2 separate regions of the Homo sapiens genome follow, and region 2 is linked to region 1. The links are contacts of gene promoters, found by promoter capture Hi-C in blood cells and fetal thymus (Javierre and others, 2016). All regions are on one chromosome and are shown on one strand. Each heading gives the region's core, a stretch centred on a gene start or on the middle of the fragment in contact. The rest is flanking DNA. Distances are from core to core; before and after follow the strand shown.

What was found. The method cuts DNA at HindIII sites, captures the fragments that hold promoters and counts their contacts. A CHiCAGO score of 5 or more calls a contact.
Region 2: a fragment that was not itself captured here is called in contact with the fragment with the promoter of LXN in region 1 in 1 of 17 cell types (erythroblasts); the score reaches 7.6 in erythroblasts.

The regions. Positions count from the first base shown.
Region 1 is chr3:158,670,798-158,674,483 of GRCh38, reverse strand. It overlaps LXN (latexin), which reads left to right and starts at 1,836. Exons shown (of 6, transcript NM_020169.4): 1 at 1,836-2,134; 2 at 3,465-3,527. The coding sequence starts at 2,006. All of the region lies in intron 13 of GFM1 (G elongation factor mitochondrial 1), which reads right to left. RefSeq lists enhancers at 1,463-1,652, 1,963-2,012, 1,434-2,026, 2,453-2,512, 2,027-2,619. The HindIII fragment of the contact is 4,555 bases long and covers 1-3,686 here.
Region 2 is chr3:158,741,177-158,744,862 of GRCh38, reverse strand. It overlaps LOC100287290 (a long non-coding RNA gene), which reads right to left. Exons shown (of 5, transcript NR_171782.1): 4 at 2,719-2,833. Among named protein-coding and RNA genes, the nearest start is that of RARRES1, 11 kb to the right of the region's middle. The HindIII fragment of the contact is 334 bases long and covers 1,835-2,168 here.

The DNA of each region.
Region 1 (3,686 bases), core at 587-3,086:
CCCAGGAGACAGTGTAAGTTCGTATCTGACAACCCCATCGAAAATTGGCTGATATTCTGTATTTGCAAAAATATTGCCATGGGTGGGTCAGGGTTTAACAAATGCTGAACTAAGAAACGTGGAGAGGCCAGGCACGGTGGCTCATGCCTGTAATCCTAACACTTTGGGAGGCAGAGGAGGGAGGATTGCCTGAACTCAACATGGTGAAACCCCATCTCTACTAAAATACAAAAAAATTAGCCAGGTGTGGTGAAGTGCACCTGTAGTCCCAGATACTAGGGAGGCTGAGGCAGGAGAAATGCTTGAACCTGGGAGGTGGAGGTTGCAGTGAGCCGAGATCACGCCACTGCACTGCAGCCTAGGCAACAGAGCGAAACTCTGTCTCCAAAAAAAAAAAAAAAAAGGTCATGTGTGAAAGACAGTGTCTCGCAAAGCAAATTTCTCATACACGGACAAGACTGAGAAAAGTTTCATTGACATTTGATACAAGATGATGGGCAAGCAGACAGATGGTATTTAAAGGCAAAGTCAATCAGAACCCCCAAATCCCAGGAGACAATAATAAGCATGAAACTGAGGCCAAAGTCCAGAATCCAGATTTACTGCAGAATCTACATAATCAGAAAGAGATACACCTCAAGAGTCTTGGGTGTGTGCATTACTACCAAGTTAAAGGTCCTGGCCAGGCATGGTGGCTTATGCCTGTAATCCCAGCACTTTGGGAGGCTAAGGTGGGTGGATCACCTGAGGTCAGGAGTTTGAGACCAGCCTAGCCTAAACCCGTCTCTACTAAAAATACAAAAAACTAGCCGGGCATTGTGGTGGGCACCTGTAATCCCAGCTACTCTGGAGGCTGAGGCAGGAGAACTGCTTGAACCCAGGAGGCGGACGTTGCAGTGAGCCGAGATAGCACCATTGCACTCCAGCCTAGGCAACAAGAGTGAAATTCCATCTCAAAAAAAAAAAAAAAAAAAAGAAAAGAAAAGAAAAAAAGGTCTCAATCCAGGCAGCGAAGACCTTGGCCAAACTTTGGTAGAATCTCCAAGTTATCCTAGCCCAATTAACCTAAGACCACCAAGGATAAACCTGTACTTCTACAAAGTCAGGTTTATAGGCCCATTGCAATGAGGTAGACCACATACCAGAGAGAGTGCTTTGTATAAGTTCAGTTTTTAAGTTTATTTTAATCCTTGAAGTAAAATATTCAAAATGACTCAAGTTGGAAGCATGGCGTTACATCAAAACTTATCATTTTAAGATTAGTAAAGGAGAGGGGTACAGGTGCATTTTTTTATTTCTCCTGATCCAAATTACATAATCTCCCAATTTAATACTATAGTTTGCAGATTCTCATACTTTGATTTGGGCAGAACTGGTCCAAACCCACAAAAAGCTGAGGATGAGCAAGCCTCTTCCTGGACTCTCATAAGGGGAAGGGAAATGAAGGAATCGAATCACTACCTGGAGTACTGTGTACCTTGCCCTGCCAGGGACGCTGCATGCGGTGTATAAGGAAGTTGTGCTCCAGTATGCAAGCGAAGCAACCAGACTTTTTTCCCATGGACAGGAAACTAGAGTCTTCAGAGATGTCCTATATCAGCGAAAGCCCCACCCTGCACTTCTATAAAGGTTAATGAAACGAAAGATGCAATCCCAGCGAACCTAGCCCACTGACTCCCTCCCCACACCTCCACCTGCTGGTGCCTGACAAGCATGCTGGCCTCTCCTCCAGTAGGAACCAGCAGGCGGAGTAAGGAAGCCCGCTGCAGGCAGTAGTGGGGCGGGGCCTCAGAAGCAGTCAGCCCAGGGCTCTCGGATGCAGGGAGCCTGGGCCCAAACAGCAGCTTCCGGAGTCGGAAGGAGCTGAGGAAGAAGACTGACTGAAGGAGCTTGCGACTTTTCCGCCTCGGCAACCGGACCCAGCAGCAAGCAGGACGGGCGGCGCTCTGCTACTGGTCCCGTTAAGCCAGAGTAGCCCAAGCCCTGAAGTCACTGCTCATCCGGAATGGAAATCCCGCCGACCAACTACCCAGCCTCCAGGGCGGCCTTGGTGGCACAGAACTACATCAACTACCAGCAGGGGACCCCGCACAGGGTGTTTGAGGTGCAGAAGGTCAAACAAGCCAGCATGGAGGTGAGTTTAGCAGGGGGTGGTGGACAGCAGAGGCTTCAGGATTGCGCTCCCTCCACTCACCCGCGGTCTCAGCCTTTGGGTGCAGACACTCCGTGCCACCCCCTACCCACCTTCTGTTTTAGGACACACTGCTGGTATCTGGTCTTGAGATATTAAGGTTTCTGGGGGAATGTCTATACTCCAGTCTCTGGAGACAGCCCGGGACTGTTTTCACCTTAAGGCAGAGACAAAGTTTTTACGCACACAGTTACAAGAAAACGGGAACACGCTCTAGGTAAGGGGCAGCACTTTCCTTAAGTGTAAACTGTAGAAACCATTCAAAAGACTACTAAGGCTGCCACGTTTCTCATCTGCTACTCTGATCTGGACCAACAAAAGCTCCCATCTTCCAAGACTCTATTGCCTACATTTTAAGACAAATCCTTATCAGACCCTTTGACCAAAATGAAGGGGGAAACAAACAGCAAGAGAAACTGACAATCAAAGTCAAAGAATAAAAGCACTGTGGGCTGACGCTGGCCTTTAGCCACCCAAACACCGCTACCACATGACTGCCTTAAATGATGTGCACCCTCTGCTAAAGGCTTGAATTAAATGTTTAAGGCCTCAGCAATCACTAACGAGGTTTGTTTTCATTTTACGAAAATCTACTGGATTTGAGATTATCCCTTATTTATCTGACAGAATTTTAACTGCTAACAGTCTTTTAGAGGTGACACAGTAGATCTTATTTTGAAACTGTACCAGATAACAGAATTAGGTATAAATTTTCAATCTGTATCTTGATTTAAAAGTGAAATACCATTTCTTAGTCTTATATAATTTGTTAATCATTTTGCAGTTTCACTAATGTATAAGTAAAAACAATACTTAATTGTATTAAGTCTCCAATTGCTTTGCAGTAATCTGCCTCAAAATGAAATTCACATTCATTGAACATTATTTGGAGGGTACACTGAGCTTTATGAAAAAATCTTTTCAAAGGTGATATTGTCATCTTTAGAATTAAACGCTGTTTCAAACTTTCTTATGTAGAGACTTTAAGATCACAGATCCAGGGGTTAAATAAAGTCTTTTGATGATTGAAAGTGAATTGTGCCCAATTTGTATGCTTTTATCCTACTCTTTTGTTTTCATCCAAAATAAACTTGATAGGGGACTTGCTAAATTAGATGTTACATTCATGGTGACATGCCTTTTTCAAGACCTAAGGCTTTCACCATTCCCCTTCAGCCAGCCCCTCCAACCAAATGAGATGCATACTTCTAACAATGCAAGTATAATGTTGTTATAATATTTTCTTGTCTCCACTACATTTTCTTAATTTTAGGATATTCCAGGAAGAGGACATAAGTATCACCTTAAATTTGCTGTTGAAGAAATTATACAAAAAGTAAGTTAAATTTCTTTTTTCTTTGAGACAGGGTCTCACTCTATCACCCAGGCTGAAGTGCAGTGGCAGAACATGGCTCACTGCAGCCTCAACTTCCCGGGCTCAGGCCATCTTCCCACCTCAGCCTCCCCAAATAGCTGGGACCACAGGTGCATGCCA
Region 2 (3,686 bases), core at 752-3,251, 70 kb before region 1:
TCAGAAGGTGGGAAGACGTTAGTGAGATGTGTCCAAAGAAAGGACAACTTAGCAAGGTTCTCTGCACCGGGTAGGCACAGGTAAAAGAGAATAAAACTACAGTGTTTCAAACCGGCAGTTCCCTCTGTTTGCCATGTAATTCATCCCACACCCAGCACTTTACACAGAAGAGACTGAGCCAGTTTGAGTTGTTGAGCTGGGACTAGACCCCATGCCTTCTGACTCTCAGACCAGAGCTCTTTGCCCTGTACCATCCTTCTTAGTTCTTTAAGAATCAAGATAGAATTTCATTTTAGCCAACAATAATATCTCCTTATCCTAAAGCCTCATCATAATTCTGATATTTACCAGTGAAGAGAAAAACATGTTTACAGTGGCATTTGTTTCAAAAAAATAATCCAACCCAACTCACCCTGTGCACAGTAGGCTCTTTTCAAGGCTAGGTGTGCAGGGACTTTAGAGAACCCTCTAAGAGCAAATGCCCATTGCTGGGCTTCAAGGTTTTCCACCTTTTTCCTTTACTGCTAAGTAGCCACTGGCATGATTCCAGCCAGGTTCACTGCTGTTCTGTTTGGTCTTCCCTACAATTCATTCACTCGGCCCACACCTTCTGCCCAGACCAGTCTGCCCCTTGCTGCTCTCACAACTTGCTGACTCTTCTGAACGCCCACAAATCCAGCTTTTCTGCTTCTGGACTTGAAGATCCACCCACCGCACATTACATTCCATGGAACTAGGGGCAGGGTGGCTGAACAGAAGCCTGCACCAATCATCCTCCCTGCAGGAGCACCAAATTTTAACAACTAACCACACACACAAATCAGCACTGTCATAAGAACACTCCAAGGAATCAACCAACCTCTGTCTGTATGTATTCACGTATTCTAAGTCATCTAGGTGATTGTGTTGTCTATTTATTAGCCAGGTGATTTATCAGTACTTCTGTTTGCTCTCACTATTATATATATGCCCTGGTGTGCACCCTGTAGAAATAATGGTGAAGAGGGGAAAATAGAATGAGGGCTTTCTAACACACTGTCCTGTTATCTAGGCTGCCACATGTGGGAAAACGCCTTCCCCTGAGGTATGAAGAGTTGGTTTTGGTTTGCCTTGATAACATACTCTATGCAAATTTCACTGATGAACACCAGTGTCATAAACAGAATTGCATAGATCAATCACTCCAGAAAGTTCATGGCATACAAATATTAACAAGTGTTATGAATTTTCTTTGAAATTTTCTTTGAAGAACGTAAGATTCTAACTATTATTGCCGGAAAAAAAAAAAAACATTAAAATCCTTTATTTCACTCTGTAATGAATACACCATCTTCTCAAACAGGAAATAAGGTTTATGATTTCAAGCTTTATTTAAACACCCTTTGCTTGAAAAACTAAAACAGTCCCAATTTGTAATTTATTTTACATCTCAGTTTATAGATCACTTAGAAGAGTGTTAATTCATTCTTGGAATGGCAAATGTCCTGTCTTAAGTGACTGATGGAAAAACAAAATGCCATGCCAAATTCATCAGAAAATGTATAATTGAGCTATAAATACATTGTGTTCTTAACTAGCATGACATGCCAAAAATGACAGCTTACTTTGGAAAATTGCAAAATCCAACACATGGGGTACTGACCATTTTCACTTCATTACATTTGAAAGCCCATCTGTTGGCAATTACGTGTCAACATGGGCTTCTCAAATCCATGTAATCTAAATTACTTTTAGTTTTAAATGTGAACACATGGCAGGTTTTAAAAGAATTATTTCATGCCACCAGTAAGGGGAGCACAGAAATGTGTAACAGTTCTATTAATCAGCTCAAGCTTAGTAATATTTCTACATCAAAAGTAGTAGAGCAAATAGGCTGTCTCCATTGTGTACTTTGGCTAACAACCAGTATTGAGATCACCAAATAATTTAAATACAGGAAACGTGATGCTTTCCATCTTCTTTAGAAGCCACCAGTCTGGTTAGCCCAAATGCCACACACAAATGGTCCTAAGTTCCTGGCTGTTGAGTTTCTCCAGGACTACAGAGTCAGCCTCACAGGGGCCTGAAGTCCAACCAGGCTCCCTGAGATGTGGAGAAATGCCCATGTCAGAAACAAGGCTTTATCACTTCTTCCATAGCCCCCAGGTAAACCAGAAAAAAATGAAGCTTTCATTAATGGTGACAGAGACAGCTAGCTGTTCTTCTCTAAGAAATGATCTTTGAGGCCAGGCATGATGGCTCACGCCTGTAATCCCAGCACTTTGGGAGGCCGAGGCAGGCGGATTACCTGAGGTCAGGAGTTCAAGACCAGCCTGGCCAACATAGTGAAACCCCATCTCTACTGAAAATACAAAAAATTAGCTGGGTGTGGTGGTGGGTACCTGGAATCCCAGCTGCTCGGGAGGCAGAGGCAGCAGAATCGCTTGAACCTGGGAGGTGAGCCAAGATCACACCACTGCATTCCAGCCCGGGTGACAGTGTGAGACTCCATCTCAAGAAAAAAAAAAGAAAAAAAAGGAAATGATCTTTGAATATAGTTCTAAAGATTGAGTGACTTCTTCTGTATTCTTCTCTTCAAGTGAAATAATCTCAACTTACCTAACCACAAAGCCACATTTCCTGGCCCTTAATTCACTTTGCCACTGTAATCGAAACCCTTAAGTAAATCAGAGTCTACCCAATTGTGGAATGTACAAGCAGCACTTGGGTGGGCCATACCTGAGCTTGAATCTGTTCCGTGCTCCCTTCTTACTGATACAACCTCGACCAGTTACTTAATTCTCTGTGGCACCCAGTTTAGTCCTCAAACTTGTGGAGATTAAACAAGATTATTCTGTAAGAGAAAGCATATAGCATCATGTCTGAAACACAGCTCCACAAAATGTTACTTGCTCTTTCTCTTCCCAAACGAAGTACTATAGAGAAAAGTCAATTGTCTATAACTGTGCTGTATGATACAGTTATCATCAGACACCATGTAAATATATGTGGCTATGTATATTTAAATCTATTTAAATTAAATACAATTAAAAATTCTGTTCTTAGACTGCACTGGCCATAATTTAAGCACTTGGTAGCCACATGTAGCTGGTGCAGATATGGATCATTGTCATCAGAAAGCTCTCTTAGACAGGGCTGATTACCTTATCCCGTTGGGTGTTGACACTTCCAAACACATCCATGTCAGTGTCTACCTAAACTATGTCATGTGAAATCTTTCTACCTAAACTATGCCATGTAAAATCTTTCCTTGGTGACAGGAATAAATGCAATCACCCCGTTTTCTGTGGCATCTCTTTTAGAAAGAACCTCATCTCCAGTTCCGCATCCCCAAAGAATTCAGTCTCACTAGATTCAAGCTGGAAAGGCTTCTTCTTTAACCTCATAGATTCAGAAAACTCTAGTTAACTGTTCCATTGCAGCCCAAATCCAGATTCAAGGGTCATCTGCACTGCGACCTTTGCCTTCCTGCTGAGAGTCTGGTGGGCTGTGGGCATAATGCTGAAGGCTCCAAGCCCTGGCTCTTGCTCCTAAAGCAAAATACCATCGCTAGGGACTCAACACAGCCACATAAACCTCGGGTAGCTTATAGGCACAATATTTAGGACACTGTGAATTCCCCCAATGAGTCCCAAGCACCTTCACAGGAGAGAACAGTAAGCCAAATGCTCTGGGAACACAGCTCA